4 separate regions of the Homo sapiens genome follow, and all the other regions are linked to region 2. Evidence: promoter capture Hi-C in 16 types of primary human blood cells and fetal thymus (Javierre and others, 2016). All regions are on one chromosome and are shown on one strand. Each heading gives the region's core, a stretch centred on a gene start or on the middle of the fragment in contact. The rest is flanking DNA. Distances are from core to core; before and after follow the strand shown.

Region 1 (6,845 bases), core at 2,122-4,621, 2.0 Mb after region 2:
AGAGGCAATATGATGATAATTTGGTAAATTCAAAATTTCTAGTCAAGACGGAGGGGAGAGAAGCCTTCTCAAAATTCTCCAGTGCTTCTCAATTTTCTCAGAATAAATCCCAAATTCATCCATGGAACTACAAAGCCCTGTCCTGGTTCCTCCCGCCTACCCTTCCCTACTTGTTCTGCTCCATTTACAAGAGCAACCGTTCCTCAATCACACCAGCCACGCTCCCACCACAGGGTCTTTGCAGTTGCCATTCTCTCTGCCTGCGGTGCTCTTTCCCTAGAAATCTGCACAGATTGCTTCTTTACTTCCTTCTGGTCTTGGCTCAGACGTGACCTGCTGAGTGAGCCCTTCTCCTACCACCCTGTTTAAAATGACACACTTCCCACCCACCTCTGCCACTCCAAATATTCCTCCCCCCCTTCTCAGCCTTATGTTCTCCATAGAATTTATTCCCCGCTTACACACAATAGCCTTTGTCTGTCTGTTCCCTCACTAGAAGGTAAGCTCCATGTGGGCAGGGAATCTTGCAAGTCTTGTTCACTGTTGGATCCCCAGCACCTAGAACAGCACTTGAAACTTAGCAGGTGCTCAAAAGAATATGCTCCACAAACGAATGAATGAATGAAAGCTCGGGTACAACAGGGTGCTGGGAACAACACCCTGGACACCCTCAAATTCAAAAGTCTCTCACAAACCCATTCCAATAAGGGTTAATTAGGTTAACCACTAGTTCTGAAATCAGAGACACCTTGGGAACATTCTATAACTCTTTGTAACCTGGCAGTAGTTATGCAAATCAGGTCATTATTTTCTCAGTACACGGGGAATGGATCACTTGGTGACAATGAAAGCATCAGTAGGAGAGTAGAGAGAAGGGCGCCAGCCATACCTCCTAGTTTTGCCTATAGTTGCAGGCAGGAAATTCCTGGGTGGCCCCTGACTCAAGATAACTGGTGTTTATTAAGAACCTGTCCTGTGTCAACCCCAGACCTGTAAACACTGTGTTCTGGCAAGAAAGACTGTAACTCTTAAACATGTACATGTGCTATTTTGCATGTAACTATTTTCTATAAATGTTGGCATCTTTCTCCAGAACCCTAAGCCTCATTCATGTCAAAAAACATGTGATCTTGCCAAATTAAGGTACTTCTATTTCTTCTGACCTTACATGCTCTCTTTGAGGTAAATACGGAGCTACCTCAATGTCTCAACTCTCTGTGAGGACTCTTTCTCCTTCGTTCAGGGGGCCCCTTTGCCCCTCCTGGTTGCCCAGGGAAACCTGCATATCTCAAGGGTGGAGGCAGGAGGGCGGAGAGGGGACTGGCCAGTGCCTGTCCTGCTGGCCTCCACTGGGGTGTTGCTCATCCTGGTAGTGCCTGGGCACCCGGGTGTCTTCTGTCTACTGAGGTGTGGCTGCTCTAGTCTCTTCTTTCCGGGCCCTGACAAGGCTTTTTGTGAAGATCTTGCATGGTGGAGGTGCAGAAATCCTGTCCCAACCTCAGTCCTCTTGTGGTTCAGCACTTTGGCATCAGGATTGCCCATATCCTACAGAGGGGCAACTGGGGGTCCGGGCATGGCACATCAGTCTAGACCCTTCTCCTGCCCCGTGCTCTGCTCCTTCCCCGGCATGTCCCCTCACAGCAGGCTCCTCTGAGAGGCGTGTAGTCAGTCGCCTGGGACTCCACCTTCAATGTCCTCAGATTCCCCTAGCTGGGTACCCCCATCTTATTCATAATTTATGTGGTGCTTGAAAGCTTTAGCTATGTGGCTATTTCAAACATCCTCCCCATATAATATCCTGTAGTCCGTAAATATTTACTATAAAAAGTAGTTTTCTTTAGAAAAGGTATACACCCCTCCCTGGATATCCACAGGGGATTGGTTCCAGAGCCTCTGCGGATAGCAAAATCTGCAGATGCCCAAGTCCCTAATACAAAATGGGGTAGTATTTGCATAGCTTCTATGTGTATCCTGCTGTATACTTTAAATCATCTCTCGATTACTTGTAATACCTTATACAATGTAAATGCTATGTAAATGGCTGTTATACTGTTCAAAATTTGCATTTAAAAATTGTGGTACTGTTATTTTTAAAAATTTTCCCCCCTGAATATTTTCCATCTGTGGTTGGTTGAATCCAAGGATGCGGAACTCCCAGATACCGAGGGCTGACTGCATATCGTTTTAGTGTGTGTCCAAAAAACTCAACAATTCTTACTTAGCATTCAGAGAAGCAACGGAGCGTAGCGTGGTGGTGAAGACAGGCAGTCCGGAGCCGCCCTGCTGAATGCCCGCTCCATTCCTCGCTGCCTGTGTGACCTTAGGGAGTTAACCTCTCTGTGCCCGTTTCCTTATCTGCAAAATGGGGATCGTGGTAGCACCCACCTCGTAAAAGTGTTGTGAGAATTAAACAGTTGATCCATTACGTGCTTAGAACAGCACTGGCACAAAGCGCGAGTGCCGTGGTGGCTGCTGTCCGTGTCATCACGGCCGTGGGAAGCACGCCAGGTGAGCAGGTGGCACAGGCCAGATGCTGCCGCCTGTGTATAGTTAAAGGAGCCTTTTACGGTCTGGCGATTTTACCTGTGTCACTGCAGCCACTTTCCTTCACCCCCTCCGAAGAATTTAGGATCTTGGACGCTGAAAGGAGAACGGAGTCAACTTCATCCTCTTCCCGGTGCTGCTTTTCTGTAACAGAACCGTCCGGGGCTGTTCTGTCGCGGGTCGTGGCGTGGCGGGGCTGAAGGTGGGGGCGGGGCAGAGGGATGGGGCGGGGCAGGGCTAACGGCTGGGGCGGGGCGGAGGGAATTAGGAGGGGGCGGGGCTGAAGGCTGGGGCGGGGGGGCGGGGAGGGCGGGGAGGGCGGGGCGGAGGGAATTAGGAGGGGGCGGGTTTGAAGGCTGGGGCGGGGCGCAGGGATGGGATGGGGCGGAGAGACTGGGCGGGACCTGTGGGGGCAGAGGAATGGGGCGGGGTCAAGGCTGAAGGCTGGGGCGGGGCGGAGGGATGGGGCGGAGGGACGGCATCAGGCCGGGCCTGGGGCGGGGCGCGGCGCTTTCCGCAAGCGGCCACCCGAGGGCGCGCTGGGCGGGCGGCGGCGGCAGACCACGTAGCCAGCCTGTAAGCCACAGCGGACGCAGGGGGCCGCAGCGGGTGCTCAGCCCTAGGGCCGAGCGGGAGATGTGCGGCGAGTGCAGAAGGGCGGACCCGGGATGTCCCGGGTTTTCGAGCGGGGAGCCGCCTGCTGAATGCCCTTCTGCTGCCCTCCGTTCCCGCGGCTCCCCTAGGAGCCCCGCCCCGTCCAACTCTTACCCGGGCTCATCGCCGCGGCTCATCTCTCTCGCAACCGCCGCCGCACGCACCCGCTCCGCCGCCCCGCGCAGGGCATCCTGTCGCCAGGTAACCGGGTGGCCGGGGCGCCGGCCCCACCCCCACCCTCGGCGGCGCGCGCTCGGCTGGGGTCCCTGGTGGGGTCCCGGTGGGTCCCTCCTCACTCCGGACGCTTCCCCGAGAGCTTCCCTGGGAACCTGGCCTGGGACAGCCCACCTGGGCGCCTCCCCGCACACGCGCGCGGCTGTCCGGGACGGGCTTGCTCACACTCGGACTCGCTGCGGTACCCGCCGGACCAAAGCGGTGCGGAGAAAGGGACCGCCCGGGGACGGACACACGCCTGAGAGCTTTCCCTTTGCCTTTCCACATCTCCACTTCATCGCTGTTGTTTTTTTTTTTTAATTCTTAGTCCTCTCATTTCAGCGCATCCCTCAGAGGAGTTTCAGCATTTGGGGATTTGAACGGCCCATGACCAATATTGTGAAAGGACTTTTGTTTGCTGCAATGAAAAGAAGACTCCTATTTTTCAATAATGAATTAACCTAAACATGTATTAAAATATGCTCATGAAAGCTGTGGGAAGCGACGGTGGGCTTCCTTTGTCTAAGCATGTTAATTTTTACGCACCTGGTGTATCACGTGCAGGATTGATGTTGCGTTCACGGGAAACCTGACCTCCTTTAACCAAGGACTGGGTGCGTGCCCCCAGCTAATCCTCCTGCCCATCAGAAAATGGTGCTCTTTAAAGTTTTAAACGAGTATATATTATTTATTTTGTAGTAAACCATCACACATAGAAAATTAAAATTCAAAATCACAATCACCAGGATATCATAATTTGCTATATAATAACATATAATATATAATAAGTAATACATGATGGCTTGCTTTCATTGAAATGAAACTTCTTATGATAGTTTCAGTGCTTACTTCCTCTAATTTGTTTCTTATAGAAATGGGCTCTAGTGCACGCGCCTGTAATCTCAGCTACTCAGGAGGCTGAGGCAGGAGAATCGCTTGAACCCAGGAGGCGGAGGTTGCAGTGAGCCGAGATGGCGCCACTGTGCTCCAGCCTGGGCAACAGAGCCAGACTCCGTCTCAAAAAAACAAAAAAAAACAAACAAAAAAAAAAAAAAGAAAAGAAATGGGCTCTAGGTCCGGCATGATGGCTCACACCTGTAATCCCAGCACTTTGGGAGGCCGAGGCGGGTGGATCACCTGAGGTCAGGAGTCCGAGACCAGCCTGACCAACATGGTGAAACCTTGTCTCTACTAAAAATACCAAAATTAGCCAGGTATGGTGGAGTACATTCGTAATCCCAGCTACTCGGGAGGCTGAGGCAGGAGAATCACTTGAACCCAGGAGGCAGAGGCTGCAGTGAGTCGACATAGTGCAACTGCACTCCAGCCTGGGCCACAGAGCGACACTCTGTCTCAAAAAAAAAAAAAAAAAAAAGAAAGAAAGAAAGAAAAAAATGGGCTCTAGAAGATTTGACTTTCTTGTGGCATTGTAGACAATTTTAATAAATTATAATTTTGAGAATTTATGGTCTGCATTGCTGATTGATATTGATGATTCAGGAGATAGAAATTATTTAGGCAGATAGGGCAAAAGAGTCTTCAGCAGAACTTCTAACAAAAAACAGCTCAAGAAATCATTTTTTTTTCTAACAAAGAGCAGCCTGAAAGCCTGCAAACCTTGCAAAGATAGATCAGGAAGCTGGAAGCGTGCACACCAGGGCGCAGGGGGTTGGGGGGCAGCGTGCGGGTGGATGCCAGCAGCTGCGCTGATAGAAAAGGGCTACCTGGGGGCCAGGCATGTCCACCATGGAATCTCCATCTCCCCTTTTTTGTTAGCACGTGTACAGTAAGAAAGAGATGGGCGATATGGAAAAGCTCAGTCAGAGAACCCACCTGCGTAGTAAAAGATTGGGGTGGGGGCTGCCAGAGATTCATGCCCTATGCAGATGGCACACCTGGTCCTAACTGGTTTTTCACGCCCTATGTAGATCAGACTGCCTCCCCATTAGCTCATCTATAAAATTCTATAAAAAATATTTCACAGCGAATTGGCAACCCGGGGACCCCTTTCTGTAGCGGAGAGCTTATTCCCTTTCTTGTCGCCTATTACATTTCGGCTCTTAACCTCACTCTTTGTGTGTCTGCATCCTTGATCTCCCTGTGAGACAGCAAACCTTGGTGTCAGCCCACACAATGAGGCTGCTTCATTGATAAAGTTAATTTTTTTCCTGAGAGCTACACAAGTTTTCAGCAATATGTTTGTGAAATTACTACTGTAAATAAATTGCATTCCTTCAAAGGGTGAATGACAAAAAGCCACTACATTTTAGCAAGTCTGTTTTTATACTACTGAAGTTTCCACAATTAATTACTATATTGTATTTTATGTAATGCTAATTATTAATATCTAATCATTTGATAATTTATGTAATAATGTGTAATAACTCTAATTTGTCTATGTAATATTTGTGGACTATGATGACAAATTAATATCGGTTATTACATAGAAATTACTTGTGGATTTTTGTGGGAGCACTCAGTCATACCATTTAGTGTAGAATATAAAAAGCAGGTGATAGATGCTACAACATCAAACTCAGATTTAGCCAGTGCACTAATCTCAATAGAGAGTTACTTCCATTTTAAGCTACTTCCTAATCCATTCATCAGTCAGAAAAGCAGCTCTTTAGTTAGAAGGACACTTTATTTTAGATGTCCTATAAGGCCTTTTGATTATCACACTCATTTCTCTTTTGTAAAGCACATCACATATATATTCTCAGTTAAAACAAAAATTTTGTCAGAAAATTATTGCAATTAATATGTAAAAAGGCTGTCTTTGGAGCCAACAGTTATAATATTTTAAAAACTGTTTTCAATAATAAAGATGCCTATGATTTGAATATCACCCTCTCAGATGAACCCCCTCGTGAAGGGCCTCACATGAACATTGCGTGCGCCAACCCTGGTATTCGAGGTGGGAGAATCTGGAAGTGGTAATTAGAGCATTGACATGTCTCTAAAAAAATGGGGGTGGGAGGTGGTCACAGCCCTTTAGGGACATTCACTGCAGTGTGAAATGTATGTTGAGGGAGAAATCTTATTTGATCACCCATGGCCACTTAAAACCATTTTCACCTGCGCTTGAAACTACCTGCATTTTGAACTCCGTGGCTGACCGAATGATGGGCCTCTCTGAAAAGGAGTTTCCTTATCTGTACAACTGTGAGCCAGTAGTGAGGATGAGTGAAATCCCAGGTGAAGGGCCTACTCCAGGAGAAAGCAGAGTGGTCACATACGGGGCTGACAGTGAATGGCAGGTCTAGAGCCCCGTCTAGGGTGGGATTCCATAAACACTTTTGAAATTTTTTTTTCCTGTGGTTCTTCTTTGAAAAAACTTGACACTTCAGTGGAAAAAGATTCAATTATTGTAGCTCAAATATTAGAAAAAATGTATATTTTAAAGAGATAGTAGAATGTGTTGTCTAGTTTAT
Region 2 (6,493 bases), core at 3,994-6,493:
CAAATTTTTAGGCTTTGCCAGCAAAATTAGACCAAAATTTCAATTTTGAACAGAGTATAAATCTCTCTTCTCTAAATTAAAAACCCTTTCCCCTGCTTTTAGAAAACATAATTGCATAATTCAAACTCCTTCAAAACTGTGACCTAGTTCCCCCTCTTGATGTTATAAAGGGCTCATGTAACTATGGTAACTAACCAGGGAAAATTGAATGTTTTTCTGGTCAGCAATATGCAAAGTATACCATATGTGCTATTTTTTCTCTTTGGGATAGCTAAGGGGATATTACGTTTGCCTTTTTTCTTGTTTATGAAAATATGAGATCTTATTATACCGAATTTCCTCTTCACTACAATCCCAGTCATTCACACGGTCCCTTCGTTAAAACGTTTTAGGATCATATTTTGCTTTTAGTAGTCATCCTAAATGCTGAATAGTACTATAATCTAAAGCAGTAGGATTGACTGTATACACCAGTTAAATCTGTGCAGTCTAACACATAAACTCCAAGTACAGGGTGATATTGCTCAGATTTCTAATATTCCTTCTACAGAATCTGATATTTTCTTAACTTTGTCCTTTTTTTTTTTTTTTTTTTTTTTTAAATGAGACAGAGTTTTGCTCTTGCTGCCCAGGCTGGAGAGTGCAATGGCACCATCTTGGCTCACTGCAATCTCTGCCTTCCGGGTTCAAGCGATTCTCCTGTCTCAGCCTCTGAGTATCTGGGATTACAGGCACATGCCACCACGCCCGGCTAATTTTTGTATTTTTAGTAGAGATGGGGTTTCATCATATTGGTCAGGCTGGTCTCGAACTCCTGGCCTCAGGTGATCTGCCCACCTCGTGGCAAAGTGCTGGGATTACAGGCATGAGCCACCACACCTGGCCTAACTTTGTACTTCAATCCTAGCCAAAGTGTTTTCTTAAAGCAAAAGAACTGCTAAAATGGAATTACATCTTGGAGTATATTTAGATATTGAGAAGAGTTATCTCCAGTTTGTAGTGACTTTTATATATCTTTTTATTTCTATTTAAATTTTTTCTACAATAATGTGTATTACTTATGTAATAAAGTAATAAAAAATGCTTTAATGCTTTAAAACTGAGTTCAGTGGAGACGCACACCATTAGGTTTTGTTTTTTTTTTTTCTTTGAGACGGAGTCTCGCTTTGTCGCCCAGGCTGGAGTGCAGTGGCATGATCTCCGCTCACTGCAACCTCCGCCTCCCGGGTTCATGCCATTCTCCTGCCTCAGCCTCCCCAGTAGCTGGGACTACAGGTGCCCGCCACTACGCCCAGCTGATTTTTTGCATTTTTAGTAGAGACGGGGTTTCACCGTGTTAGCCAGGATGGTCTTGATCTCCTGACCTCGTGATCCGCCCGCCTCGGCCTCCCAAAGTGCTGGGATTACAGGACTATTAGGTTTTTCTTTAGTTGCTTTTTGTACTAATGAATTGATTTAAAGTTTTAGGGTTTTTCACTATAATTTAAGATGCTTCACTGGACCTTCTAGAACAAATTACACTCTAACACAGCCTCCTAGATTACTAAGGATTTATTTATTTGCATCAGGTACAATTACATTTCTTACAACACGCTATCAATTGGTGACTTTTCATATGAGGATTTCTTCTTGAATTTCTCCATATTTAAAGCAGTGATTTTAAACTACTTAAATATCTTCCTCAGAAAAACATTGCTCTCTGCTTCACTGAATTAAACAGGGAATTAACTGCCTCTTACTGGTTTGGAAAAGACCTCAGTAACCAAATAAAATGCATGGGATTTGCTGGATCCTGTTAAACCAAATGTGAAAGATTTACTGAGACAATAGGAAAATTTGAATTGTGTAGTTATTAAATGATAGTAAGAAAATTTGGGGAGGCAGAATACATGGTATTACGGATATGCTTAAAAAACTGTTATCTTGGCCAGGCATGGTGGCTCACGTCTGTAATCCCAGCACTTTGGCAGGCCAAGGCGGGCGGATCTCTGGAGGTCAGGAGTTCCACACCAGCTTTAACCAACATGGTGAAACCCCCTCTCTACTAAAAATACAAAAATTAGCTGGGCATGGTGACACATACCTGTAATCTCAGCTACTTGGGAGGCTGAAGCAGGAGAATCGCTTGAACCTGGGAGGCGGAGGTTGCAAAGAGCCAAGATCGCCCCATTGCACTCCAGCCTGGGCGACAAAAGCAAGTCTCAGTCTCAAAAACAAACAAACAAAAAACAACTATTATATTTTACCTATTCATATTATTCATATTTAAAGTATTTACAGATAAAATGATAAAAATCCAGCAAGAGTGAGGGAATGTGAAGGGCTATAGATTAAATAATCTTAGCCATATGTTGCTAAATGTTGAAGCTGGGTAGACGGTATATAAGGATTTATTGTAGTATTACTTTTGCCTTTGAAAATTTCCATAAAAGTTTAAAAATATTAAAAAGTAGAAAAAAGAAAAGGATTTCATTTATTTGATCTGACTCAAACAGAAGCTGAATTTTCTCAGCAGGCATCTTTAGGAATCTTTCACCATTACTTGCCAGTTTGTTTTCAACCAGTTTGAAGTTGTTGCTCTCCCCAAGAGACAGGTACGGAGGCGTACACATTTCCTGCCAGGGACCTCTTAAAGTCAGACTTAGAAATTCAAGGTAATCCCAGACTAATTTGGGGAGATCAGTTACTTATCTTTTTTTTAGGGTTGCTTTATGGTAGATAATACACTGTAGAGCAAATAAAATGCCTTTTTGCTTTATTCACAGGATTAAATACCATAAATTAATTTCTAGTTGCTGAGAACGGGAGATTTTAAATTTTGCATTTAGAAGACAAGAAATTCAATCTGAAGAGGCCCCATATTTCCAGTTAAGTGACCACTCAGAAGGGAAGGACAGCGCTCAATAACCAAGGTCAAGAGTTGGGTTTAGGGTTTGTGGCGATTTTTTTTGGGGGTGGCAAGAATAAGCCGTAGATTAATCTCTTAAAATAAATATAGCAAGAAAAGCATGCCTAAAATAATTCATACATATACATATATTATCATATTACAGTGTTTTACAGTTTTAGATCAGTACCAGCTAAAATATTCTTTGGATTGTTTTTGCTTTTTTACCAGCCTGTTCAACAGAATTATAAAAGGTGACAATAATGCTATAAATGTCTCCTATCCCATGCTCATCCCTCCTCTCATCTTGCTCTGTTTCTGGAGTACTCTAGGTATTCTGCATCTTTGCCTTTTTCCCCTTCTAGTTTCTAAACACATTTCTTATCTACTTGCAGATCACTTATCAGACTGAATAAAATCCATAGGTACATTCGGTGTCTGACCTGTAACAAGGCACCCCACATTATTTTGCGCCTTTGATAAAGACCAGCTTATTCAAACTTGTGAGAAAACAAAAATAGCAGGGTTCAAGTAAAAACCAGTAAAATTCAGTTCTTCACAGTGGCGGTTTTTTGACAAGACCCGGCCGAAAGATTTCACGAACAGTAAAATCCCAGAATGTTCTCAGAAATACTATCCACTGTACTGTCTGGGTTGCTTAATACTGGCCCAAACCTCAGTGTCCTAGGATAATAACCCAAGACAATTTCCCAGTCCTTTGAAATAGTTGACGTCCCAAGATGTCAAATTGCCTGGAGTGCTTTATTTTGGTTTGAAATTTAAAATTTCCTCTAGATAAAGATCTAGATTTCTCTTTGCAAGTCAAAGGCTAGTTACTATTAACAGCTGTTTCAAAAGTGCTCTAAATAGGTCACCATTCAGGTGTACCAACGCTGCAAACTGGATCTAAGAAGATCCAAATTTGTCACCACTCACTCACATTTTAACTCAAAGGTAGTACTCACAATTGGCCTTGTTTACATAGGCATTCCATTAAAATTATCCATGCATTCATTCTATTTGCACCCATTTCTTTCAAAAATGTCCATCTGTAATTAAAATCAGCTCCTCTGCCTGACATCTCATTTACACTACACCGAAATTAAACCCCACTAGGAGATCACGTAGATTATGGGGCCGAGGGCCCGCCCGCTGACTAGGTTTTCACTCGCGTCTCCTCCATGCCCCAGGTCCCCTCCGATTGCAGTCCTGGGGCAGGACTGAGCAAAAAGTCCCGTAAAGCTGGCGTGTGCCCCACTCCGCCAGGAAGCCTCACCGACGTCCTGTGCTTAAATGTTCTGACACCCCCCAAAAGCAGTTGTTTTTAAAGGCTGTCTGTGGGACCAATGCGTTGTCAAACAGATGCCGTCCCGCATCCCCTCCCCCTAAATGACACAGAAGATTCCAGCGTAGGGGAAGGGCCACGAAACCCGCAGGGCACACGACGCCGGGGGCCGGAGGGAGCACCGCCTACCTCCCTGATCAAGCCCCGCGGTGCCGGGCGAGCCCGAGGGCCCGGCAGGAGGCGGGCGGCAGCCCCAGGCGAGCTCGGAGGCGGCGGGAACGCAGCCGCCGCGCATGCCGGGAGCCGCACGCCGCCCGCCGGGGCGCGCAGTCCCGCAGGCCTCGCTCCAGGTCGTCCGAAAAGGAACCGCCTGCTGCTCCTTTGCAGGCTCGCGAGGAGCCGCACTCGGACCGCCTGATGGGGAAAAAGCCGGTGTGGCCGGGCGGAGCGAGCCGAGCGGAGCTGGAGCTGCCCCTCCCAGCGGGGAGGACGGCACGAAGGACCGAGCCGCCTCCCCTCCCGGGTCCCATTCAGACGCGAGGCGCAGAGACTGGCTCCCCGGGCTTCCCCTTTAAGGGGGGCGGGGCGCGGCCTGCCGTTTGGCCGCCCCCCACACCCTCCCCCGCTAGCCCAGAGCCGGCAGACCAATCGCCCGGGCGGCGGAGCGAAGGCGGGAGAATGCGAACCCTCCGGTAGGCGGTAGGGGCGGGCCCCGGCCTTATTCGCAGGGAGCGCTGCGCAGGCGCAGAGGCGGCCGCGGGCGGAGGGGCGGGGGCAGGCTAGCGGGAGGCTCTCCGTGAGGCACGGAGGGTGACTGGGGACAGGCGGGCGGCGACGGGCTTGTCATGGGGATCCGGGCTGCGAGACGGCACTCGTAGCATCTGGGGACTCCGAGGGGGACAGGAAGTGTCAGCGCCCGGGACCCCGGCGCCGGCCCCGCCGAGGGGATCCCCACTGCTCCGGTCCTGGAGCGGGAGGGGAGAAAGGAGGGAGCCCCGGTTTCGCCCCGCCCCTGGGCTGGTGCTGCGGGGGCGGGGAGTGAGGGCTGCTCTGGGGGGAGTGGAGATCGGGGAGCGCGGCCGTGCCCTCTCGAGCGGCTGCGGGGTCCCCGCGGCGCCGGGCTGCTGAGCTGAGGGCCCGCGGCGGCCGCGGCCGGTGCATGTGCGGCTGCTGGATGCGGAGGCGGCGGCGACGGCGCGGATCGGCAGGATGTTAGGGCAGCAGCAGCAGCAACTGTACTCGTCGGCCGCGCTCCTGACCGGGGAGCGGAGCCGGCTGCTCACCTGCTACGTGCAGGACTACCTTGAGTGCGTGGAGTCGCTGCCCCACGACATGCAGAGGAACGTGTCTGTGCTGCGAGAGCTGGACAACAAATATCAAGGTAGGAGCCGCGGGGCTGCCGGCCTCGGGAGCCGGTGGCGGGGAGCCTGTCCGGGGGAGTGCCACCTTCCCTTTCTCCCGTGACAGTCTCCCCGAGCGCACCGAGGGTCTGCCGAGCGGGACTGGGAGGACTGGAGACCGGGTTGGCGGCCCTCCGTGGCCCCGCGGTGGGCGAGTACTTCTCTGGGGTCCCCAGAGTGGGGGTGGGGGCCGCTTGTCAGCCCCCGCTGCAGACCCAGCGGCTGCAGCTGCCGCTGAGGGGAATCAGCCATTTTAAGCAGCAAGCATTTGTTCAGGCGCTGGCCCGCCCCGTGCCGCAGACCCTGCGGCCCCGGCCCGGGACTGCAGCCGGGCAAGGGTCGGAGGGAGTGAGCGGCCGGGCTCCCGCTGGTCTGCGGGGCGCGCTTCCCCACCTCACTCGCCCCCACCCCGGAGTGCGGGTGCTTTGGAACGTGCGGGGGGAGGGGGCGAGAGGCCGCGGAGGCGGACTGAGGGGGCCTTCCTCCGCGCTCCTGCCCCGGCCCGGAGGAGAGCAGTCCGTTCCGCTCTCTCGCCCCGGGAAAGTTCGCGGGCGCCCCGCGTTGTAGCCCTAGCCCAGTTCTTTCGGCAAAATGGTTAAGAGGGGAGGGGTCCCCCGCGGGAGAGGAAGAGAGGGGCGTGTGTGGCGGGGAGGGCCCCCGCGCCGGGGGCGGGGCCTGCGGGCTTGACGAGGGGCGTGGGAGGGGCGCGGCGCGCGTTCCCGCGGGCCTGGAAAATGGCTGGTCGCGAGAGGGGCGGTGGCGAGCTGGCTGCTGGGGAGGGAGTCGGGGCTGTGCGGGGGCGTTGGTTCGGCCCCAGCGGAGTCCGAATCGGGGTTTGCAGCATGTTTTGCGGTGATGTTTCCAACCTCTTTCCCAGTCAATGGATCAGGACGGCGATCAGCAGCTCGGACCGTCGCGGAT
Region 3 (6,809 bases), core at 739-3,238, 1.7 Mb after region 2:
ATGGAGGTGGAAAATTCCCCAAGTCAGCCACCCTTGAGCTAAAAGAGGTTGAATATTCAGAAATTCGACTAATCTTTCAAGATCCACTTCAAAGTCCTGTATCTAATACTGCCACTATGCAATGGTCTTCCCTTCTTCCACTATTTCTCACAGAACCCGAAGAACTCTGAAGTTAGAATGGACCCTAGCAACCTATATCAACAATCTCCTCCTACAAATAGAGTGCCTGAAGCTCAGAACAGTTGCTGTCTTGTTTGTGATCATGTCGGTAACACCCAGAAGCCTAAGTTTTATTCCACTTTCAAAACTGTCTTTACCTTGGTTCAACACTGTCTCGTCATTCCATGCCCTATACTGGTAGATTCAATTTTACATTCTTTTATCAATCTTTGTTTCATAGGCTTAATATTTTATAGTTCAAATTTCTATTTCATAAACAACAAACGGGCTGGGCGTGGTGGCTCATGCCTGTAATCCCAGCACTTTGGGAGGCTGACACGGGCGGATCATCTGAGGTCAGGAGTTCACGACCAGCCTGGCCAACATGGTGAAACCCCGTCTCTACTAAAAATACAAAAATTAGCTGGGCGTGGTGGTGCCCGCCTGTAATCCCAGCTACTCGGGAGGCTGAGGCAGGAGAGTCACTTGAACCCGGGAGGTGGAGGCTGCAGTAAGCTGAGATTGCGCCACTGCATTCTAGCCTGGGTGACAGAGCAAGACTCCGTCTCAAAAAAAAAAAAAGGTTCTTTTAAACCAATAAAATGTTGATGTGGTTGGCTATACAGGTATCCCTCATTATCTGAACTCTCACCTAATATGGCTGTTAACTTGCAAAATTTTTTACTTAGTATTCACTACCTTAAGCAGTAAACTGGTTTACCGAACCTCTGTACTGAAGTCCGTGAAAATGTTTAAACTGAAAGGATGCAGAGAGTATGCTGCATTCCTGCCTCAGCTGTGCTCTGATGGGCTCACATGTTGTCTTCACCATCATCCTCCCCATACTAAGTGGATTTATGTTCCAGGAAGTAGAAAAGGCAGTGAAGAAATTAGGTAAGCCAAAGCAGCCTAGAAAAGCTTATTTAGTGTAAGTTAGAAGTGATAAAGTGTATTGAGAGATGAATGCAGAAAAGGCACAAGCCTGGCTCTGCATTCATATCCACCTACCATGACCACAGTTGCAGTTATATGGTGGAAAATAAAGAAAACATAGGAAAATAATTTTGGATCTGAAATGCTTCACTGTGTAAATCGAGCATGAATGATAATTTTGAAAAATGATTGCAATACCTTATATAATAGACTGACAGTCCTAATTAGTGTTTAAAATGCTTTATTATTATGAAGAATCCTTGGTGGATTGTTATATTATGGACTCCAATAACAGATGTACCAACTGGCAAAATGCCATGTTTGTTCCTGCGCCTTAAAAAGCCCTGAGCGCCACCTACTGGCAAATCTCTTCTATCAGGGGTTCTTTACTATGCAGTACTATGAATAAAGCTTCCCTTCTACATTTTAGCTCAGCATCTGTGTTAAATGCTTTTTAACAGTATTTCAATTTAATTATAATTGGGGAACTGTTCAGGAGTTTGGGGTAGGATTATTTTTCTTATTTAAAAGTTAAAAATATTTAGGTTCTCTATATCTAATTAAGTTTCAGAAATGGGTTAGACAGGAAGAGTGAAGAATGCTTTATTTTCAATGGAACCAAATAGTTTACTCAGTGTCTTGATATTCAGACCATGGTCCCTAGATCTGCAGCACGGGTATCACCAGTAGGGGCTGATTAGAAATGCCGATTTAGCTCTTACCTTAGTTTTACTGAACCCAAATCTGCATTTTAACAGTATCCCTGGGTTAACCGTATGCATACTGAAGTTTGAGAAGCTCTCTTGGACAAAGTTGGCTGCCCAATTACTGTATATCTATTTTCCTCCTACTTCACAGATCCCTGACTTCCAGGGTGAGCCTGCTTGGCCCAGGATAATCCCATTTCCCCTACCAACGACTGGTTCGGGAATGGGAGCGTAACCAGTTCTGGGCAAGGAGACCTATGTGGATGTTGACTGGGCCAAATTTCTTTAAGAAGTTTCCTCCATTCCAAGAGTCAGAGAAGAGACACTGTCTCTTCCTCTGGACACTGTTGTGTCTGAAGGTGAACACTGAAAACGGCTGCAGACATCTCCTAGCAGCCTAAGAACGAAGCCAACACCAGGGCTGGAGGAACACAGTGCTAGAAAGTAGGTCCCTGATGAAGTTTTGAGCCACTCAATCAACCCTGAAGTCTAGCGTGTCTTTGGGTGACCTGTTATATGAGAAATATTGTTTCATTCGGAATTCCCTTCTTGTATTCAAAATCCTGGATAATCACTGATGACTCTGAACAAAAAGCCCAGAAATCAGACTATTTTCTATTAGATGGTTTTTAAAAACTTGACAATTCTAAGAGTTGAGTGTTTTCTTCCTGTAAGAAGCTTTTTATTGGCTGAAACAATACCTTCCTTTTGTATGCTCGTTTTTTAATCCTCTTTCCTAGGATACAGTGGGGTTTATAATTTGTGGGAACAAATAGTACTTACAAGATTTTAAAAAACGGAAGTGTCCCCTTAAAAATAAAAATTATGATTTAGTCAAACAAGCCCATATTTAAAAAATAAAGCCCACTAGACATATTGAACATTTTAATTTATCTTCTAGAACATTTCTCTTTTCAACCCATTTTTAACCTAATTTTATAAGAACAATACTTTTTAATGCCAAACAATAGGCTGCAACTTTTTAACACGTTTCCCATTTGCCCCAAGAAATGAGTGCTGGCAGTGAGCTGTACTTTTTTTTTTCTGAACAGGAAATGGGTTCAACACATACAAATCACAGTAAGAATTATGAACGAAGAGCAATGCAGCAATAGAAATTTGATGCACAAGAAAAAAGGCAAATATATCAAGATATATGTTATTACACAATATTAGTGAGCAATCTGCATTATCTCATGATATTTTATGATTTAATTTCAACCACCATCCAATTTTTGCATTACAAATATAATTTTAAAGAACAATTCTGTCACTTCAAGGAAAACAGTTGACAGTATTTATTACCAATAATAAAATTTGAGCTTTTTAGCAAAAAATAGTATTTTAGGTAAACTTGTATCTGCCACCATGAGTTTGACAGCTTCTCAAGAGCTTTCTGATGAGGCTGGTAGTGATATTAACAACTATGATTTCTATATAATGTATTCTGAAATTTGCCAACCTTTTTTTTTTTTTTTTTTTTTGAGACAGGGTCTTACTCTGTCTCCTAGGTTGGAATGGAGTGGCGTGATCTCAGTTCACTGCAACCTCCAACTCCCTGGCTCAAGAGATCCTCCTATCTCAACCTCCCCCCGCAGCTGGGACTACAGTAGCACACACCACCATGCCTAGCTAATTTTTGTATTTTTTGTAGAGACAGGGTTTCACCATGTTGCCCAGGCTGGTCTCAAACTCCTGGGCTCAAGTGATCTGCCTACGTCTGCCTCCCAAAGTGCTGGGATGACAGGCGTAGCCACTGTACCTGGCCTGCCAACATTTGTAAGCTCAGTGAAACAATATTTTCCAAATACCCAATATGTCACATTCCAAAACCAGGCATAGGTAAAATATACATTAAAAATCAATCAAGAAAGATCAATATGTTTTAACATAACAGACTTGAAATTCACGATTAAAAGTTAACTGAGATTAATTTCAGATTTCACATTGCAACTAACATCTAAGAAACTATTACTTGTGGGCCAGGCGAGGTGGTACACACCTGTAATCCCAGCACTTTGAGAGGCCGAAGCAGGTGGATCACCTGAGGTCAGGAGTTCCAGACCAGCCTGACCAACATGGTGAAACCCCGTCTCTACTAAAAATACAAAAATTAGCCAGGCGTGGTGGAGGGCGCCTGTAATCCCAGCTACTCAGGAGGCTGAGGTGGGAGAATTGCTTGAACCCGGGAGGCAGAGGTTGCAGTGAGCCAAGCTCGCGCCACTGCACTGCAGCCTGGGCAACAGAGTGAGACTCTGTCTCAAAAAACAACAACAACAGAAAAGAAAATACGACTTGTGGTATAAAAAAATCCACAAGTAACTGAAAAGGTTATTAAAATACTCCTTCATTTTTGAACATTTTGCATATGGCATATTTTCTATACATCCTTTAGCCAATGATATATAGATTATAATAGATTATAAGCAGAAGCTGATTTGAGAATCCAGCTACATTCTATTAAACCAGATGCTAGTGATTAGCAAAAATCACTAATTTTTTTGGATATACACCTTTTTCATGACATACATTACTTACATTATATGGCAACTACATAATGAGTTTATTACTACTATTAAACAAATCAATATTTTAAAAATGTGTAATTTCTAATATGGTAAATATTTACAGATATAAGCTATAACCTATATAAACAAAAGCTCTTCAGAATCCTCAATAACTTTTATGAATGTAAAAGTGTCCTAAGACCAAAATGTTTAAAAATCGTTGTGTTAGAGCACTTGAGGTTGGTGCTGGAAATCCAGAAGAGCAGGAGAGAGCTGCAGCCTGCTGTCTGTCAACCCAATAAATCATCCACCTAGCGAATCGTATGCTCTAGCTTAACTAATGAACACACAGACTGGAAAGTGGCCATAAGAATTATAAGAAAAAAGAATTACAAGAAAATTGTTACCCCAGATGGCTTGATTAAAAATTGGAGATTTTACCCAGGGGAGAATATTAATCAAATGTCTTAAAGATTATAATGCAGAAGGATGCACAGACTTATTCTATGTATTTCAGATGGCAAGTTTTAACAGGAATGGGCAACTGTTATAAAATGAAATTTCCATGAACATATGAAATATGTTTCCTAACCAGCACAGCTGTGCAACAGAAGCAGTTTCCTGACAGTCCCTTCAGTCTACAAATACTGTCTATTATGTGCCTGTATTTGGAAATTCCAACAAGAAATAAGATCCTGCCTTCATTCACTGCAATGGGACACACAAGCAAACTAACTAATTTCAGAGTCTAGTAAGTATCCCGATGGAGAGAAACAAGCTTTTGCGACACAGAGAGGCATGGGGAGTGTAAAGCTCCCAAAGATAGATGTCTAGAAAAAGGCTCTCCCTGGCAGAGACTTGAGAAACAGGGAGAAGCAGAGCCCTCTGCAAAGAAAAAGGGCCACAGCAATGCAAGTGCCTCACCAACGGGAAAAAACCCGGAGTGTCCTTACAACAGGAGCGGCAACAACAACAAAGTGTGACTGGAACTCAGTAATTCAACATCAGGTCGAAAAGGCCAGCAATATCCATACAACGTACAGCAATGGTTGTCACCAATCTCAACAGCATACTAGACCAAATGCATCAGAATCCCTGTGTGCAGAGCCTAGGCATCAGTATTTGTTTTAAGAGTTCTCTAGGTGATATTAATGCACTGCCTGGGATGAGAATTACTGATCTGGAGTCTGTTAGGCAATAACAAGGAATTCAGATATTATTACTATTATCATTTTTTTGAGACGGAGTCTCGCTCTGTCGCCAGGCTGGAGTGCAGTGGCGTGATCTCGGCTAACTGCAACCTCCACCTCCTGGGTTCAAGCAATTCTCCTGCCTCAGCCTCCTGAGTAGCTGGGACTATAGGCGCCTGCCACCACGCCCAGCTAATTTTTGTATTTTTAGTAGAGATGGGGTTTCACCACATTGGCCAGGATGGTTTTGATCTCTTGAGCTCGTGATCCGCCTGCCTCAGCCTCCCAAAGTGCTGGGACTACAGGCGTGAGCACCGTGCTCGGCCGCTATTATTATTATTTTAATAATAACATCCAGGGTTTCACTATGTTGCCTAGGTGGGACTCAAGGGACCCTCTAGCCTCAGCCTTCAAAGTAGCTGGGATTATAGGTATGTGCCACCACACCTGGCTTCATATATATATATACACATATATACATTTTTTTTTTTTGAGATGGGAGTCTCGCTCTGTCATCCAGGCTGGAGTGCAGTGGCACAATCTCAGCTCACTGCAAACTCCGCCTCCCAGGCTCAAGCAATTCTCATGCCTCAGCCTCCCGAGTACCTGAGAATACAGGCGTGTGCCACTACGCTCGGCTCATTTTTTGTATTATTTGCGGAGACGGGGTTTTGCCATGTTGGCCAGGCTGCTCTCAAACTCCTGACCTCAAGCGATCTGCCCACCTTGGCCTCCAAAGGTGCTAGGATTACAGGTGTGAGCCACTGCTCCTGGCCAGGTATTATTTTAATATAAGAGTAAGTCACTGAAGAGTGGAAACTAATAGGATTGATTTACTTTTTTTTTACTTTGCAAAAGATCACTTTAGTTCTTATGGGAGGAATTGAGGGCATGAATAGAAAACTCTTTAATGCTGAAAGTTCTGAGAGTCTGAATGAGCATTTATTAGGAAAGATTTATGGGGTGAAGACTTAGCCAATAAGAGTGTGATTTTTCAGAGACTCTAAACAATCAATAGGTACAATCAGAGAAAGGGAGAAAAATCAATAGGTACAATCAGAGAAAGGGGGAAAAAATACCTACAAAAGGGCCAGATGCAGTGGCGTGCACCCATAATCCCAGCCCTTCGGGACGCTGAGGTAGGAGGTTTGCTTGAGGCCAGGAGTTCGACGCAGCCCGCGCAGCATAGTGAAACCTCATCTCTACAAAAATAAAAAATATTAGCCAGGTGTGGTGGGGCATGACTGTGGTCCTAGGTACTCAGGAGGCTGAGGCAGGAGGATTACTTAAGCCCAGGAGGTCAAGGCTGCAGT
Region 4 (6,698 bases), core at 3,592-6,091, 1.1 Mb after region 2:
TTTCCTACAAAACTAAACATACTCTTACCATATGATCCAGCCATATGGTAAATACGCACTCTTTGGTATTTACCCAAAGGAGTTGAAAACTTATGTTCACACAAAAGCCTGCACACAGATGTTTATAGCAGTTTTATTCATAACTGTCAAAACTAGAAGCAACTAAGATGTCCTTCAGTCGGTGAATGAATAAATAAACCGTGGTATATCCAGAGAACAGAATATTACTGAGCACTAAAAAGAAATGAGCTAGCAAGCCATGAACACTTTAAATGCATTATTACTAAGTGAAAGAAGCCAGTTTGAAAAGGCCATATATACCGCATGATTCCAACTATCTGACAATCTGGAAAAGGCAAAACTATGGAGACAGTAAAAAGATCAGTGGTTGCCAGTGGCTAGGAGGGAGGGAGACAGCACAGAGAATTTTTTTTTTTTTTTTTTTTTGTTTTGAGATGGAATTTCGCTCCTTGCTCAGGCTGGAGTGCAGTGGCGTGGTCTCGGCTCACTGCAACCTCCGCCTTTAGGTTTCAAGCGATTCTCCTGCCTCAGCCTCCTGAGTAGCTGGGATTACAGGCGCATGCCACCATGCCAGGCTAATTTTTGTATTTTTAGTAGAGACGGGGTTTCACCATGTTGGCCAGGCTGGTCTCGAACTCCTAACCTCGTGATCTGCCCGCCTTGGCCTCCCAAAGTGCTGGGATTACAGGCGTGAGCCACCGTGCCCGGCCCGCACGGAGACTTTTTAAGGCAGTGAAACTACTCAGTGTGACAATATAATGGTGGATACAAGTCCTTGTAAATTTGTCCAAAACCATAGGATAAACAGCACCAAGAGTGAACTTGATTGTGAACGATGGCGTTTGGGTGATGATGACGTGTCAGTGTAGGTTCCTTTGTAAGAATGTACTACTCTGGTGCAGGATGTTGATAATGGGGGAGACTACGCACGTGTTGGGGGGCAGGTGGGATACAGGATGTCTCTGTACGTTCTTCTCAATTTTGGTTTGAACCTAAAACTGCTCTAAAAAATGAAGTCTAATTTAAAAACTGGGAAATAAGACTTAATAACTTCGGAAGCTGAACCTGGAGCTCCTGGCAGTATCCTTTCTAGCCCCCAGTCTGCCTCAAATTGGCTCTCTGAATGCATGTGCCAAATGCAGGGTTCACAGTCTGTGCTCAGGAACCCCTAAATGCTGATCAGCTTCCACAGACAACCAAGGACCTAAAGATCTCTTTTGAACACTTCTGCAAACAGTCTAGTAACTCTTACACTGAAATACTGACTTTTAATAAACTTGTGTCTTTTGCCAGCAATAAAATTGTGGGATAAAATTATTCTCTCCTTGTGACTGGTAATGGAAACTTTAAATAGTGACCAGCTTTTCAGAGTACTGTAATATACAAATACTATACAAATACTATAGTGGACTTCATTAACTTCATTATTAGTATCTGAACAACATACATTGCCTCAGTTATCAGTTTATTTTGATATACTTCTAAAAATTTATATGATGGTAGATGAAATCCTTACAGCATCAGACATGCGCACATTTGCTCTCTACTTGTCATCATCCGCTTTTTCCACATGAAAGCACCAAATCCACACTCCTGGGAGCAGAGCTTTGGTTCCCGCAAAACTCACTGAAGTGCTGCTTAGCATGACATCACCTCCATTAGCTAGTGCCCAGCAGGGTACAAATTATTCTGAGGATGGTGATCTCATCTTAGAAGGATAAAAAAATCACATCCTAAGGGAAATAGTCACTGCCTTAAATGAAAACAGAAATTTTGCCTGTAATCCCAGCACTTTGGGAGGCCGAGGCGGGCGGATCACAAGTTCGGGAGATCAAGACCATCCTGGCTAACACGGTGAAACCCCGTCTCTACTAAAAATATAAAAAATTAGCCAGGCGTGGTGGTGGGTGCCTGTAGTCCCAGCTACTCAGGAGGCTGAGGCAGGAGAATGGCGTGAACCCGGGAGGTGGAGCTTGCCGTGAGCCGAGATCGCGCCACTGCACTCCAGCCTGGGCGACAGAGTGAGACTCCGTCTCAAAAAAAAAAAAAAAAAAAAAAGAAAACAGAAATTTTGGTTTTTAGAACATTCTTATTTGACAAAATATAAATAGGAAAAATAATTGTGATTTAAAAGATTTATCCTGGCATAGCAATGGACTTAACATGAATTGTTTCTTACTGGGCTGATGTGTGTGTAATTCTGTTCAATTCAGGATGCTGCTGCTAAGAAAGGAAATTTCTGAACACATATGTTTATGGCAAAGTTCTCAGTAGACCAACTGATATTACTTAGAAACCTGGAACTCAGGTCTCAGAATCACTTGTCTAGTTCCTGGATCCCTTAACACTTGCCACCAACGCTGTAACAGTCAGGTCTTCAAACACAAAAAAATATTGTCAGTATAAATTTACTTCACTCTAAAATAGATACTTAGACATTTCAAGCTGTGTTTTCCTACACAAGTAAAAAACTAGAATGTTCTCCCTATTTACATGGTGGTTAGCCAACTACTCATTACAATACTGAAGTAAAGCAGACTACAACATCTATAGCATTAAGGCAGAGAAATAAAAATTAATTTCTAAAGTGAAATTTCTATATTAAGCTATAAAGTATTAACAATTTGAAACAACCTGTTATTAAAGAGTGAATGTGTGAAAGTGTGCCTGTGGTGGGGAATTCAAAAGGAGATGTTAAATTAGGATTGCCAGTCTCTAAAACTGAAAGAAAAAATACATTATTTTACAATAGGATTTAAAATATTTGATAAAGATTTCTCAGGGACAAATACTATAGTGGACTTCATTAACTTCATTATTAGTATCTGAACAACATATATTTTCTCAGTTATCAGTTTATTTTGATATACTTTAAAAATTTATATGATGGTAAAGGAAATCCTTACAGCATCAGACATGCGCACATTTGCTCTCTACTTGTCATCATCCGCTTTTTCCACATGAAAGCACCAAATCCACACTCCTGGGAGCAGAGCTTTGGTTCCCGCAAAACTCACTGAAGTGCTGCTTAGCATGACATCACCTCCATTAGCTAGTGCCCAGCGGGGTACAAATTATTCTGAGGATGGTGATCTCATCTTAGAAAGATAAAAAATCATATCCTAAAGGAAACAGTCACTGCCTTAAATGAAAACATTTATGTGCCAGTCTCTAAAACTGGCAATCCTAATTTAAATTTTAAATCTCTAAAATTCTTAATCAGCTCATTAGGCTGTTGCTGGTTCCTGTCCTACAGGGAAACTCTGAGGTAAGAAATAAAATCTGGTCTCTGCCCTAAGGGTTTTTAAATCTCAAAGTGAGACCTAAAAAACAACTGTTAGTTTCTGAATCATGTCCATGAATGTAAATGCTTTTAAGAAACATTTACTAGTAAAGATTTACCAAAACAGTAGCCAAAGGATGTGGCGTGAGAGCTGTGTGCAAAGCGCTGCGTGATGACTGTCCCTCTTAATGCTGGCTCATACAGGCTAGGTACTGAACTCAAAGTACAAGCGTATTTTCGTGAGTCCTCCCAATGACACTCTGAGGCATAAGGATCCCCACTGCAGAGTTCAGGTGACTGAGGCTAAGAGAAGTTAATGAACTTTAAAGTCGCACAGCCAAGATTCAAACTAGGATCTTCCCAACTCAAGAGGGCAGACTCCCACTATTCTGTAGACAGCTTAGTACTATATAGGAATGATAACACTTAACTTCAGGGAAGGAAACAAAAATCCATAATCTCAGAAGCTTTAAATAAGACAAAGAAAATAAATAACATGATAGAAAGTTACTGCAGAGATAACAAAATAACATAATGCACTGAATTCTAATGAATGAAAAAATGGCAAAAATGACTATGGCATTTCTGATGCGACTAGGTAGTTTACTTTTGTGTTTTCTTTCCTTTTTTAAAAAAATTTAACAAACTTCGCATGTGGCATTCAATTTACTTCTAAAGTGAAATAGGCCAGACACAGTGGCTCGCGCCTGTAATCCCAGCACTTTGGGAGGCCAAGGTGGGAGGAATGGTTGAGATCATGTGTTCAAGACCAGTCTGGGCAACACAGAGAGACCCCATCTCTATAACAAAGTAAAAACAAGTAGCCTGGCATGGTGGCACACACCTGTAGTCCCAGCTACTCAGGAGGCTGAGGCAAGAGGATTACTTGAGCATAGGAATTGGAGGCTGCAGTGAGCTATGATCGCACCACTGCACTTGAGCTTGGGTGACACAGCAAGGCTGTTTCTAAAAATAATAATAATAAAAGTAAAATAACTGGTTTCATGTTCAGCGTTAGGTATATGTCATTAAAACATATTCCCTGTATCTCTGTGTTCCTCCAAAGGAAAAGTGAAGCCTGTCCAGCAGGACTTCTGGGGAGATTACACTTCTGTCAAACAACTTGAAAAATATCAGGATTATATTTATTACCTGTCAGAGAGGACAAAGTCTCAAAAGCAGTCACGTTTCCAGATTTAGCAAATGAAACAGAAAGAACATCTGTTTCACAATAGTTTGGACAAGAAAAGACTTCAGTTGTGATGTACCAGAGGTTTTATCAAAATCTTTTCCCATCTGGTCTCTGAATTCATTTGAGTACGTATAAGAATTATCAAACTGGCGATTGTAACTGGGCCTGGTGAAGTCAATCTTTTAATATTTGTTATGTAATTAAGGTAAAAATATGAGAACAGGAATGTAAAATCAAATACAGAATACATTGAAATAAGTTCCATTGTACTATACAAACAAACCATCCTTTCCTTTCCTCTGGCAAGGGCCACGTGACCAGGAAGACAGTACAGAGCACTCTCCACTATTCAAAGCCTCTGAGTTTATGACACAAGTTAGAAAGAAGGGCACTTAGTATGTGCAAACGATCTGTCTTCCCTGTGCCAGGTGAAGTCCTAAGATGGTGTTTTTGGAAGGACAAAAGGAGAAAATGGGAAAGCCTTCACAGATCTAAATGATTTGTATGATATAAGTGTAAAATGGAGGATCTCGGATGCCTTTTTATAAAAATTACAGATGACTTTAAAGCCTCAGCACTCCCACCAAGGATGACTACTTTGCAGAATCAGATTCAAGTTTAAAACCGCTTGAAGAAATCCTGCTGTCAGGAAGACTGAAACTGCCAAAACTCAGATTCAGTAGCATTTATTCATTTGATATTTGCACCATAACAATTTACTGAACACCAACTGTGTGCAGAGTACTATACTAGACCCTGAGTGTATCAAGCAGTGGAAGAGACAAACCCTATCTCTATTCAGGGCTTATACCGATGCTCACTGGTATTCAAAAGTGGCTCAACAAGGCAGATGCCAGACCGTGTCCAATACATATCAGGTAGCTTGATTTCATTATTGTAATGCAAAGAAGCTCTACAGGCAACATGTGAAGGTAAGAACAAAACATGCAGAGAAAGAATATTATATAAATCTAAGAATTCTCCCATCTTTGTTTAGGCCCAAACACCAGTGCTTCTTATCTTTGGGGCAGAGCTTAAAGATCTAATAGTAGGCACCAGAAGCAATGTAATATATCATTCATCAAAATAAAGACTGCTTTGTAGGGGGATGAAGCAGTAGGAGATTGTGTTAAACGAGGTTTGAAAACAAAACAGTAAAGAAGCATTATAATTGCCTATATCAGATGCCAGTCTCTTCAAATGGCAAGAGGCAAGGCCTTTATTCAGGATAGCAAAAGCAAATCTGATTTAACTAGGTACAATGTCTAATGTCTCTTACTTTGAACAGGTTTTATTGCCATACTCCAATAAACTGTTCATCCATTCACTAAAATAATTTTCACTTTCAAAAACCTTCTTTTGCAAAAAGGCAAAGCAAAACCAAAGTCCAAGCATCGGGCTGTGATAGAGATGATTTAAGCTTTATATTTCATTTTTAGAGATTATGTAACCACAGCACGCACATTCACAGTGGCTGAGCCCATTTTGATACAGTCTGGTCTAACCACCTTGCCTGGCCCTCTTTCAGCTATCTTGCAGGTTTACATCGTTTCAGTGACTCCGTATGTCACCTCTACCATTTCTTTTCTAATTATTATTTGCTGAATAATCCTAAACCAGGTCTACTTTTTCTAGATAGGGCATAAAAGTAAAAATACAATGGATGGGCATTCACTGTGTTATGCCAGGCCCCGCATTTGGGGCAAGACACTAAGGATACCAAGATAAACCAAGTCCGTCCCTCCTGGAGTTTGCTTGCAAATCTAGCAGGGAAGATAGTAAACAAGCAACTGCAAAGGATATGACACATCTCTCTTAGGGAATGCTGGCTGCAGAAAGAACACAGCATAGGAAGATTTAACCTTAAACTGTTTAATGAAAACAGAAATTTAAGTAGCAGCTCTTCTAATCAAATGTGATGGCGGGAGAAAGGGAGTGCAGAGGTGTTGCAGGCAGACACTAGGTATGAAGGTCAGCATTGCCGTGCAGAAATCGAACCGGTGCTAAAGATAAGGAGGGGTGGGGGCACTCAGGACCCAACACACGCAGGGGTTTGTTAGCCATATTAAGTGCTGGGTTTAACCTAAGGGCAAAGGACGAGCTTTCTAGACTTTCATTTCATAAAGATCCCTCTGCCTGTGCTGTAAAAAGTGGACTGCAAAGGAGCAGGCGGGTCTGGAAGTGGAGAGACCAGGGAAGAGG

What was found. The method cuts DNA at HindIII sites, captures the fragments that hold promoters and counts their contacts. A CHiCAGO score of 5 or more calls a contact.
Region 1: a contact is called between the fragment with the promoter of CCDC110 here and the fragment with the promoter of ING2 in region 2, in 4 of 17 cell types (total CD4 T cells, non-activated CD4 T cells, naive CD4 T cells and 1 more). The highest score is 10.0, in total CD4 T cells.
Region 3: a fragment that was not itself captured here is called in contact with the fragment with the promoter of ING2 in region 2 in 2 of 17 cell types (total B cells and total CD8 T cells); the score reaches 5.6 in total B cells.
Region 4: a contact is called between a fragment that was not itself captured here and the fragment with the promoter of ING2 in region 2, in 1 of 17 cell types (naive CD8 T cells). The highest score is 5.7, in naive CD8 T cells.

What each region holds. Positions count from the first base shown.
Region 1 is chr4:185,468,362-185,475,206 of GRCh38, forward strand. It overlaps CCDC110 (coiled-coil domain containing 110), which reads right to left and starts at 3,372. Exons shown (of 7, transcript NM_152775.4): 1 at 3,313-3,372; 2 at 2,584-2,688. The coding sequence starts at 3,322. LOC105377590 (a long non-coding RNA gene) reads left to right here and starts at 3,070. Exons shown (of 2, transcript NR_133944.1): 1 at 3,070-3,399; 2 at 3,754-3,902. RefSeq lists a silencer at 2,957-3,586. The HindIII fragment of the contact is 5,122 bases long and covers 1,753-6,845 here.
Region 2 is chr4:183,499,815-183,506,307 of GRCh38, forward strand. It overlaps ING2 (inhibitor of growth family member 2), which reads left to right and starts at 5,244. Exons shown (of 2, transcript NM_001564.4): 1 at 5,244-5,553. The coding sequence starts at 5,382. ING2-DT (ING2 divergent transcript) reads right to left here and starts at 4,701. Exons shown (of 3, transcript NR_033995.2): 1 at 4,362-4,701. RefSeq lists silencers at 4,326-5,365, 5,586-6,305. The HindIII fragment of the contact is 10,965 bases long and covers 1-6,493 here.
Region 3 is chr4:185,182,372-185,189,180 of GRCh38, forward strand. The region is part of intron 2 of CFAP97 (cilia and flagella associated protein 97); the gene reads right to left. Among named protein-coding and RNA genes, the nearest start is that of CFAP97, 18 kb to the right of the region's middle. The HindIII fragment of the contact is 974 bases long and covers 1,502-2,475 here.
Region 4 is chr4:184,641,604-184,648,301 of GRCh38, forward strand. The region is part of intron 2 of CASP3 (caspase 3); the gene reads right to left. Among named protein-coding and RNA genes, the nearest start is that of CASP3, 4.5 kb to the right of the region's middle. RefSeq lists enhancers at 1,304-1,882, 1,883-2,460, 2,762-3,393. The HindIII fragment of the contact is 2,145 bases long and covers 3,770-5,914 here.